Linked DNA regions of Homo sapiens: all the other regions are linked to region 3. The links are contacts of gene promoters, found by promoter capture Hi-C in blood cells and fetal thymus (Javierre and others, 2016). All regions are on one chromosome and are shown on one strand. Each heading gives the region's core, a stretch centred on a gene start or on the middle of the fragment in contact. The rest is flanking DNA. Distances are from core to core; before and after follow the strand shown. Region 1 overlaps BABAM2 (BRISC and BRCA1 A complex member 2). Region 2 overlaps BABAM2 (BRISC and BRCA1 A complex member 2). Region 3 holds the start of MRPL33 (mitochondrial ribosomal protein L33).

What was found. Contacts are between HindIII fragments. The CHiCAGO score rates a contact against its expected background, and 5 or more counts as called.
Region 1: a fragment that was not itself captured here is called in contact with the fragment with the promoter of MRPL33 in region 3 in 1 of 17 cell types (M1 macrophages); the score reaches 5.4 in M1 macrophages.
Region 2: a fragment that was not itself captured here is called in contact with the fragment with the promoter of MRPL33 in region 3 in 1 of 17 cell types (activated CD4 T cells); the score reaches 5.4 in activated CD4 T cells.

Annotation. Positions count from the first base shown.
Region 1 is chr2:28,265,934-28,269,763 of GRCh38, reverse strand. All of the region lies in intron 10 of BABAM2 (BRISC and BRCA1 A complex member 2), which reads right to left. LOC124907745 (a long non-coding RNA gene) reads left to right here. Exons shown (of 2, transcript XR_007086254.1): 1 at 1-379; 2 at 863-1,198. Among named protein-coding and RNA genes, the nearest start is that of BABAM2-AS2, 43 kb to the left of the region's middle. The HindIII fragment of the contact is 8,369 bases long and covers 1-3,830 here.
Region 2 is chr2:28,038,375-28,041,955 of GRCh38, reverse strand. All of the region lies in intron 5 of BABAM2 (BRISC and BRCA1 A complex member 2), which reads right to left. Among named protein-coding and RNA genes, the nearest start is that of MIR4263, 44 kb to the right of the region's middle. The HindIII fragment of the contact is 154 bases long and covers 2,213-2,366 here.
Region 3 is chr2:27,770,243-27,774,170 of GRCh38, reverse strand. MRPL33 (mitochondrial ribosomal protein L33) reads right to left here and starts at 2,452. Exons shown (of 4, transcript NM_004891.4): 1 at 2,372-2,452; 2 at 1,479-1,497. The coding sequence starts at 2,393. RefSeq lists enhancers at 2,271-2,400, 1,641-2,457, 2,691-2,810. The HindIII fragment of the contact is 2,472 bases long and covers 1,839-3,928 here.

The DNA of each region.
Region 1 (3,830 bases), core at 870-3,369, 500 kb before region 3:
TCTGTGGCCTCCCTTTTATGGGCTCTGGAGCTGTAAATCTGAAAGAAGACAGATAAGGTAGAAACCTTGTTAAACAAAATCCTCATCAAAATGACAAACATTCAAACAGGAGTGGCCTGCCTTTATCTCCAGTTACCACCCAGTTTGGATGGAGTCTGTTTCCCTTTTACAAAAGGTTTGCTGTATGAGAAGGGAACATTTTACCCAAGAGACCGAAAGTCACTCCCAACTAGGTATTTCCCAAAGGAGTTGTACTGTATGTTCCAGAGTGCAGCTGCTGAGCTAACTATCTGGGTTGCAATAAAATGTCTTGATTTTTATCCATGGTTGGACAGATTGAGTTTTCTGATAACCCCAGTCCATTTCCCTAGAAATGCAGGTATGTATCCACATGCTGACTCATTCCGGGTGCAGAGAGCACAGAGTCTCTACAGAGGGTGGAGACTGCAAAGGCGAATACTTCCAAGATGGAGAGGAGAAGGGGGAAGGGAGAGAGCAAGAAAAAACAACCTAGAGGAGTGTTCTGGATTGACTATTTACAGACAGTTTGCCAGCAACAGATAAGGGATGGATCAGGGCTGGCAACCATTACTGGGGTGGTTTCTTTGGGTCTTTTAAGATAAAAGAGATTTGATATGTTTATTAAGTAATGTGGTTACCCTGGAAGCTGGGCATGTACTTCTCGTGATAACTGTATAGCAATTACTTCTGTTGGTTACAAGCCTCAGCTTTTGTTTGCTGAAATGTTAGATTTGGTTATATCTTTGTAGGTATGAGATACTTTTAAAGGGATAGTGTTTAGTAAATTTAGATATGTAAAACTTGCCTTTCATTGGCAAGGATCACAATAACAGCTTTGTAGGATTTCTCCGCAGACAAATAATCTCTACAGTGGACCTCAAGACTTCATACTAGGATTCTGAAGATGATTGAGTCAATGGATGAGTGTAACGAACTTTTGGAAACTTCAAGGCAATTAAAGGAAACTGCAGGAGGACCAGAAAAGATCAAGACCAGGGCACGAGGGCTGATCCAAACAACGGGGGCCGGCATTTGTGATCTTGGGTAGAGCCACCCCAGTGTGGGTCAACTCCACAGCATTAGGAAAACCAGTTTATCAGAATTACCTTCTCAAGCAATAGATCTGTTCCTTGTCACATTCTTAGAACTAATAAAGACTTATCTTTATTACTACTAATTATAATGTTTTGGTTCATTCTTTTAAAAATTATGCAATATGTGACACATACCAAAGAATACTTGTAATACACACTTAAGGTCTGAAACACAGCAGAAAAACAGAACATGACTGAATCTATGCTCCCTCTCAGAACAAAGACATGAGCCACAAGCTGAAGCGACCTTGCCATCCCTCTCTCTCCATTGTCTCCCTGCCTCTCTCTCCAGAGATAATCACTGTCCTAAAATGCCTGTTTATCACTCCTTCATTTTTGTTTGTTGTTTTTTAGAGACTGAGTCTTGATAGGCTAGACTCAATTTCTAGGCTCAACGTATCCTCTTGTCTCAGCCTCCCCAAGTAGCTGGGACTATAGGCATGTGCCACTGCGGCCAGGACACCTTCACTTTTTTAGAAACATGGCTTTAATGCAGATTTCTATATCCCTAATAAATAAATGGACAGATTGTCTGGTTTTGCTTGTTTTTGAGCTCTTTATATAAAAATTCTATCGTGTGTCTCCTGGAACTTGCTTTTTTCAGTCAATATTAGGGTTCTAAGATTTCGTCTTTATTGTGTATAGATACAGTTTGTCATTTTCACAGTTGTATAATAATGTAAATTTGACACTATTTATCCATTCCTCTGTCAGTGAACATTTGGGTTTTTGGGTTTCTTCTAGTTTCAACTACAACTAGAGATACTGCCATGATTATTCTTGAACATGTGCTCATCAACAATTTTTCCTTTTTCTCCTAGGCATACCCAAACAAATTTCCCAGCCTTCCTGCAGTGAGGTGGAGCCAAATGACTAAATTCTGTGTGTTGGAGAGATAAATGCCACTTCTGGGCCTGACCCCTATGGCCCCTGCCATGCTGGCCTGAAGAAGAGGGTGCAGTGGAGGATGCTGAGGCCATAGGGAATGGTGGAGCCATTAGACAGAGAAGCTGGTCCCAGAACTTCTGCAAGAAGCAGAGTCCTCCTTTCATCCATAATGACCACCACTGAATTGACAGCACAGGAAATAAAACGTTACTGTGTTAGCCACAGAGACTGGGGGTTGCTTGTTATAGGTGTTAGACTTTCCTGATAAAACCACCATTTCAAAATACATTAAAAGTGTGTGTGTGTGTGTGTGTGTGTGTGTATGTGTGTGTGTGTCTAGTCAGTGTAAATGAAGCAACAGCTGGGCCTGGGGGTGGGCTCTGCCTCCTGCATTTATGGGGGAGTGAGGGACTTGTGGAGATAAAAGCACCAGGAGGGATCCTCCTAGTGGAGTTGTTCTGCCTCTTGATTGTGTCAATGTCAGTATCCTATCCTGGTTGTTGATATTGTACTACAGTTGTTCAAGATGATACCACTGGGAGAAAGTGGGTGAAGGGTACATAGGATCTTTGTATTCTTTCTTTCTTTCTTTCCTTCTTTTTTGGAGACAGAGTTTCACTCTTGTCACCCAGGCTGGAGTGCAGTGGCACAATCTAGGCTCACTGCAACCTCCGCCTCCCAGGTTCAAGCAATTCTCCTGCCTTAGCCTCCCACGTAGCTGGGATTACAGGTGCCTGTCACCACACCCAGCTAATTTTTGTATTTTTAGTAGAAATGGGCTTTCACCATGTTGATCAGGCTGGTCTCGAATTCCTGATCTCAGCTGATCCACACGCCTTGGCCTCCCAAAATGCTGGGATTACAGGCGTGAGCCACTGCACCCAGCCTTTTGTACTATTTCTTACACCTACATGTGAATCCACAATTATCCCAAAATAAAAAGTTTTAACAACCATGAAAGACTTATATGGTAAATATGGAGAAGTATTAACAAAACTATGGAAGGCAGTTCCTCCTTTGTTTTTGGAAAACAGAAATAAAGTGGCATCAGGTACAGAGGACAGTCCTTAGACCCAGGCGTGTGACAATGCCAACCTTTTACCCTTGGTTTCCTTACCTTAAAAACAAGGACAATACCTGTCCTACCAACTTCATGGGGCTTGGGGAAGATCAAATTAAATAAGATGATAAATGGGAAAGTACTTTGAAATACTATAAGATCTTATCACTAACAATGAAGAGACATTTCTAATAACACTTTGGGAATGACAGAGGATACTATCAATCCACTTACATTTATGAATGAAGAAGAGCTGCAAAGCTGCAGGTGCTGAGCCTTTGAATTAACTCAGTGACCAAGATGGAGGGGAGGTTAAGAACTGCACATCCATGGCAATAAAATATCAAAAGCACTTGCTGCAGGTGCAGATAAGGTATGTAATATGCTACTTTTCAAGTCAGAAAGAAGAAAGGTGGCTGGGTACGGTGGCTCATGCTTGTAATCCCAACACTTTGGGAGGTCCAGGCAAGCAGATAATCTGAGGTCAGGTGTTTAAGGCCAGCCTGGCCAACATGGCGAAACCTCGTCTCTACTAAAAATACAAAAAACTTAGCCGAGCGTGGTGGTGTGTGCCTGTAATCCCAGTTACTTGGGAGGCTGAGGCATGAGAATCACTTGAATCCAGGAGGTGGAGGTTGCAGTGGGCCAAGATAGTGCCATTGCTCTCCAGCCTGGGCAACATAGTGAGTCCCCATCTCAAAAAAAAAAAGAAGAAAACTAAGAATATGTACTTATATTTATTTTATTTACATAAAGAAACTCTGAAA
Region 2 (3,581 bases), core at 1,040-3,539, 270 kb before region 3:
TAACCACCTGATCTGAACCACCTTTATCTCTACGCCTGGACAACTGCAATTGCCCCTAACTCTGTCAGCCCTTGTTCACCTGCAGTTTATTCTCATGACAATAGGCAGAGTGATTCTTTCAACATGTCACTTGGATTCTAATCCTCGTTTGCTCAAAACTACCAAATGGTCAGGATTTAGCTCCTTTACAGAGTAATTTGACAAGTTAACAATTGAGCAAAGATGGAAAGAGGGTAAGAAACAAACCATGTGGAACTGAAGGAAAAACACCCCAGAGAACAAGTATAAAAAGGGTTGATGCAGGCGTGTGCCTGTGTTCAGGGGATGGCAAAAAGGTCGGGGTTACAGGAGCAAATAAGCACTAACACGGATCAAAGTCACCCAGAAACTCTCTCCTCCATGGTATGAGCAATTTCTAAACCCCTGGAGGATGTGCAACAATCATTCATAAAATTAGTGAATAAGAAAATGGCTACTACATCTATGTGGAACAACTGTGAAGTTATTCCTGGGGATGTTGAGGCAAGCTTTTAAAAAGTACCATGAGATTCAAAGAGTTTGGGGAAGGGAATTGGAGGGATGATGATAAACCAAACTCAAGTCATTTCTTCATTTTCAGTTTATAAAGCAAACCACCTACCAATAAATAAATAACCATTTCTGCCTACTAGTGTAAAATGTCAACCTGTAACCTGTAAATTAAAATGCAATTTGAAAACTTTTAAACTCAGAGGTGTGTATATATATATGCCTGATTTTACATATACATACATAAATAAACAACAACAAAAGTGAAATGTAGGATTTTAAAAGTTAAAATAACTCTTGTACATATAAGGTAATAGGAAAGATAATTACATATTTAGCACTTGGACTCATTTGAACTGCTAGTTATTTTAGTCCATGCACTGCATTTTAGCTCTTTTGCCCTATTTTAGCTTGTACAATGTATTTTTATTCTACCAGCTATTTTAGACCCACATTCTTTTAAAAACTCTTAGATGATCCCTACTTTATTCCTTCTCAAAATGTTGATCCTAGAATTAATACAAATTTGTGTTTATTGGCAACAGGCTGATTTACACAACTAATGTCATACTGAAAGAAATGTTGGTCCCAGGACTAATATAAATTTTTGTTTATCAGCAACAGGCTGATTTACACAACTAAATTCATAATAAAAGAAACAATACTATGAAGGGAATTTGGGAAACCATAAAAAGCACTTTATGATTGCCAACTTTCAAGCCTATCATACATTCCTTATTTTGCCATTGGAAGAACAAAGAAAACTCAGCACTTGTTTCTGACAGCACTGGAAATGTTGAACGCTAAGACTCAAGAATTCAGTTTTTCGGCCGGGCGCGGTGGCTCACGCCTGTAATCCCAGCACTTTGGGAGGCCGAGGCGGGCGGATCACGAGGTCAGGAGATCGAGACCATCCCGGCTAAAACGGTGAAACCCCGTCTCTACTAAAAATACAAAAAATTAGCCGGGCGTAGTGGCGGGCGCCTGTAGTCCCAGCTACTCTGGAGGCTGAGGCAGGAGAATGGCGTGAACCCGGGAGGCGGAGCTTGCAGTGAGCCGAGATCCCGCCACTGCACTCCAGCCTGGGCGACAGAGCGAGACTCCGTCTCAAAAAAAAAAAAAAAAAAAAAAAAGAATTCAGTTTTTCATTCTGGCACTGATTTTCCTTATGACCTATAAGCTAATCATCTTCTGTGAAACTGAGTACATGATAATTTTAAAACAATCTTAATGTAAAATTAAGTTATAAACTGTAAATGAAGAGCAAAACAAGTGAAAAATCCTTGTTCTACCTCAGATAATGACTTTTCATGTGGTTTTATATTTGAATTTCCAACAGCTATTCAAGCAATTTATGGTCACTCAGTTGTAATGTCAAAGATTGCTTTCACAGCAATCTTTCCTGTAAGCTGAAAATGAGACATTTAGATGCCGCCAAGTGAACAGAATAATTTGATTTTTTTTTTTTGTCAGTCCTTGGTCAAAATCTTCTCTTGGATAGATGCAGAAAATTATCTAACCTATGACTGTTAAAATGTCAGCCTTTCTGCCAACTGTCTTAATGGCAATTTCCCCAGCATTAGCAATAAATATGTGCATCTTTCCTTTTTTCAAGTTATAGTACGTTGGCAAGCAACTTAAACTAACAAGACTCTGAGTTTTGGCAATTTATTAAGTCTAAGCTTTGCTTTTGGTAATCACAGCTGTGACAGTTTTCTTCTCCTTTTAGAAGTGACAGGTAGACATTTTGTGCAGAATGGAGTCCAAGTTCAGGTTGTTCTGTAAGGGAAAATTTTACTTCCTTTCTTAGAGGCACTTCCCTTGTCAACAAACAAGCTTTTATCTGAAATTGACTGCTCTTACCACTTAGACAGCTAAAAGCTAAGAAACACTCAAGTGATTATAACTTTAGCTGGGTGACAAACTGGTAAGGCTGATTCTTCAAATGGACTCTGAAAACCAGTGAGCCTAAATCTGGAGATTGTTCCTTAGCACATGCATACATATACACTAAATGTGAAAAGGAAAGTCAAAGTTAGTCTAACTAGAATTTTATAATTTACAAAATGTTTTCTAAGATATGTCATTTAATTATCCCAAAACCCTGCTTGGTAGATACAATTCATTTATACTTAGAAATGAAAAAACTGAGGCCTAGAACAGTCAAGAAACTTGCCTACAGTTATTGAGAGAGTAACAAAGAGTCACAGAGCTCAACCTCAAGACTCAAGGTGTATTCATCCATTCACGAGTATGTATTAAGGGCCTAAAATGTGTCAGGCACTCCGCTAGGCATCTAGTGAGTAAAAGAGACAGGACCACTGCCCTTTTGGAGCTTATAGTCTAGTAGGTGAGTCAGATATCAATCAAAATAATCACTCCTATCAATTATAACCTGTGTGGAGAAATGGGAATACTTAAACACTGTTAGTGGGAATGTAAGTTAGTTCAGGCAGGTGGAAAGCAGTTTGAAGATTTCTCATAGAACTAAAAATAGAACTACCATTTGATCCAGCAATTCTACTACTGGGTACATACCCAAAGGAAAATAAATCGCTCTACCAAAAGGACACCTCCACTTATATGTTTATTATAGCACTGTTCACAATAACAAAGACATGGAAACTACCTAGGTGCCCATCAGTGGTGAACTGGATTTTTAAAATGTGGTACATATACACCATAGAATACAACACAGAAATTAAAAAAGAACAAAATCATGTCCTCTGCAGCAACATGGATATAGCTGGAGGTCATTATCCTAAGGAAATTAATGCAGAAACAGAAAACCATATACCACATGTTCTCACTTATAAGTGGGAGCTAAACACTGAGCACACACACACATAACGATGGGAACAACAGACACTGGGGACTCCAGAAGGAGGGAGGAAAGAAAGGGGACAAGAGCTGAAAAACTTCCTATTGAGTACTATGTTCACTATTTGGGTGGCAAGATCAATAGAAACCAAAACCTTAACATCACACAACATAACCCTGTAATAACCCTGTACGTGTACCCCCTGAATGTAAAATACAAAATAAATAAAATA
Region 3 (3,928 bases), core at 1,203-3,702:
CACATTGCGGGACTAGCCTCAGACATCCACCCTTCACGAGGAGCAGAAGTCAGGAAGGGGAAAATATCAAAATACTGGTAACCACAGCTGGCTAGTGAGGAAATTGTAAAGATCGCTGTCTCAGAACAGCCCTCTCTTCCAGGGCATAAATGATTATATTCAGGAAGGGACAAAATAAAGAGACTAAAGCTTTTAGTTTGCTAATGCGCAAAACCTTGTGCCCCTTCATATTTCATTTAAGTTCCACTCATCCAAAGCAGAAAGTCCATGTTTGCCTCACCAGATCTTTTAATACCTGTACTGTTTGTTATTTTTTCATGTGTCTTGTCTCCCCATGTAGACCATGTTATTTTATTTCTCATGTAATTCCAAAACAACCTGGAAGCATCTAAGACTATATTACACACCACTGCATTGCTTTCAACATTCAGCACAGTGCCTCATAAGAGGCATACAGTATTTGTTTGTAATTAAGATAGACAATAATTATTCAACACAGATTCAACAAATATTAAGCACTTACTCTGTGGAAGGCACTCTGGGAAATACAAAGCTCTACAAGTCTATGTCTATGTCCTCTAGGAGCTAACAGTACTGTATGGAAGGTGAGTTGGTACATGAGGTCAATCAGGCAAGACATATATGAAATATGTCACAAGGGTAGAAAGAACGAGAGTCAGAATATACCTCTACAGAAACCAAAGGCAAGAGATTCCTATAGATCCCTGGGGCAGGGAATTTTGACATAAATAACTGGACTGTGGCGAAAGCTACGTGAATCACTGAAAGATACTGGGAGGGAAAGCGCTAACATACATGTTTTTCATTAACGTTAATCCAAAAGACTAGCTTTAAGGATTTTCAATGTCTTGAGTTGCAAGGAAAAGCTGCTTTAGAACCTCCCTATTTTTACCACAAAATCTTCTGTTATTGTCTACAACATTTATTTTGAAATACAAGTTTGGTAGTTCTAGTCTCTCTGGTACAGCATGGAATCTTTAATCTTGGCTATTTTTGAAATGCTTATACCATGAATGCAAAGGATTACAAAACTCATTAAAACAGACTATGATTTAATCAAAGCAGAGTTTGTTCTTCTGGATTCCCGTAGTGAGCTCCAGACACATGGCCCCTGGTCCTCGATTTGAGGAAATGGAAATATGGTGGTAGTCCAAATACAGCACAGCCCAATGGTTTGTTTAGAAACAGACAGTGAGCTCACAAATCCTGGGACTAGAAAAGCAGCAAAGGTTCCTTCAAGTATTTCAATGCTCACAGAAGTAGCTCAGTTCAGCAGGAGGGAAAATATTTTTGAAAGAGTTCATAAAGAAAAAATAATCAACTAAGTAATCCACAAACCAACTCTTAGGAAATCAAGGCCCAATGCTTAATTTCATATAAGGATGTACTGGGAGCAGCTAGACTAACAAATCCAACATAAACAAGTGACGTTTAAAAAAGGAAAAATCTTTACTTACTTTGACTTGCTCTTGGCAACTTTTTTGTAGACAGGAAGGGTTGGAAAAGAAAATAAAAATATAAATGTATTCTCTTTCTTATGCAAAGTTCATATAAATATCAGTAATAACCAAAAATATTTAACTTATGAAATATGCCATGAGGTGTCACTCAAGTAACTATTCCCTATCTATTAGGGATCCCCTTAGGATTTTATAGAAGGAAGGTTAAAAGATCCAATCAGACCAACACAATTCTAGATTTAATATTTTGCATAATTTCATGACTGTTGGACTGGCTACCTTTTAAATCTTTCTAAAGTAATACCTGCTCCATTTTTTCCCTCTTCTAAGGTGCAAGTATTCGCGCTGCAGCAAGCTTCTTGTTTGACAAGTTTAACCTTTGCAAATTACAACAACCATCACATGTGGTGAAAACCAGATACTAAATCTAACTGGGAAGTCAGCCAAGGGTAAAGAAGAGCACTGACTCGGGAGCCCGAGGACTTCTTTAACTGCCCTGCCGCATTACTCAGGCAATTCATTGCCCCTCTCGGGAGCGGTTTCCTTATTTTTAGAGTTCGAAATAGGTGGGCTGCAAATTCTGAGGTCCTTCGGACAAAGATTCTCCTAACACGGGCTGGAGAAAAACGCCCCACAGCCAGACTCAACGGTCCGTGAGGACGGCAATTGAATCCAGACACCGCAGACCCCTTCTCAGGCACCCACAGGTCCGCGCAGGGAGGCGCGCCGCGGGGCATGCCGGACGCTGTGGTCCTGAAGGCCTGGAAAAGTACGCAGCTGCAGCTTCCCGTCCTGTTCGCACATCCTTCCCCGCATCATTCCGGGGCCCTGCCTGTCACGGCCCCCTAACCCTCGCCGTAACCCCTACCGGCGTCTCCAGCCCCACTTACAGAAGACCGCGGAGAGGAACATGGTGACCACACCTGGGCAGTCTCCGTCACCGGCCAAAAGGCCCCCAACCAACAACAACTGCTTCCGGGGCACGGCCCGGTTCTGGAAGAGGACATCCGGCAGTCGCCCGAGGCCACGCCCCCCGCCTGGAACCTGCCTCCAGTCGTCTGGCTCGTTCCTCGGTTTCTCAGAGCGAGTGTGTTTTGCTTTTGTCGTGCTGGAGGTTGGAATCCTCATCATTCTGGAAAGGGATTTACAGCTCAGGGTTCGCGCCCCGGCCCTGACTCCTATTTCTGGGTCAAGTGCTTTCAGCGTTAGGTGCTTTCCATATTTGTTTCACGAAATAATCGCAACCACCTGCATTAGACCCACAAGAACAACTGTGTATTGTACTTCGGCCGCTCCAGCGTATCAGCCCCTCGCATATTTTCTTAAAATGTTGCCTCCCCCGACCCAACTCCCTCTCCGCCTGGTTAAGCCTTACTCTCACTCTTCTGAGTCCCTTCGGCATTAAGAACCCCACCTTTCCTTAGTTATCCCAATCTCTAGGAGGGCAGGACCCTTTGCATCTCAAACTTCTGTATCCAAACACCTAGCACAGTTCCTGACATAGAAGCCAAATAACAGATTGAGAGCATTCACATCACGTGCCTAATATCACAGAACTACCAGGTGGCAGAGTAAGAATTTAAACCTAGATTTTATCTGACTCCAAAGACTCATGCCTTTCCCAGTAGACATTGGGACCTACCAGTTTGCAATCATTAATTTTTCATGGCTCTGTAAGGAACCTGGGCTCCTCTAACACCAAGGACCTCGTCAGTAACCTCATTTCGCAACTAATAATCAGGACTTTTGGATTTTTTTCCTAATCCGTGATTTGTATCTACATATGAAGTCTTACAGATGTGAAATAAGATTTAATCGCATGGCTCACGCCTGTAATCCCAGCCCTTTGGGAGGCTGAGGCAGGCAGATCACTTGAGGTCACGAGTTTGAGACCAGCCTGGCCAACGTCGCGGAATCCCGCCTGTACTAAAAATACAAAAATTAGCTGAACCCGGGAGGCGGAGGTTGCAGTGAGCCGAGATAGCGCCACTGCACTCCAGCCTGGGCGACAAAGTGAGACTCCGTCTCAAAAAAAAAAAAAAAAAAAAGTAATAAAACTGTTTTAAAGAAAATTCAGCTCTCTGTGCCATCACAAAGAAGATGAGGAGGAAAAAAATCAGCTCTCCATACAATACAATTCAATTTTTTAAATTAAGACCGTCCTTCTCCTTAGTACCTATAATACTTTTTTTCCTTCTAATCATTCTTGATATTTATCTTCCCATAACCGGACTCCAGCTACTGAGTACCTTCCAGGTGCCGAAATCCTTCCTTACCTTGCATTGGCAAAAAAGAGCTTCAGATGTTCAAGAGGATAAGGTTTCTTATATTTCCTTTAGAGGATTTATAAGAAAACACAAGACTGGAAGCCAAGGAACATGATTTCTAGTCCTTGTTCTGTCCCTTAGAAAGTCACTTTAACTTTAGCCCAGCCAAATAGCAGTTCT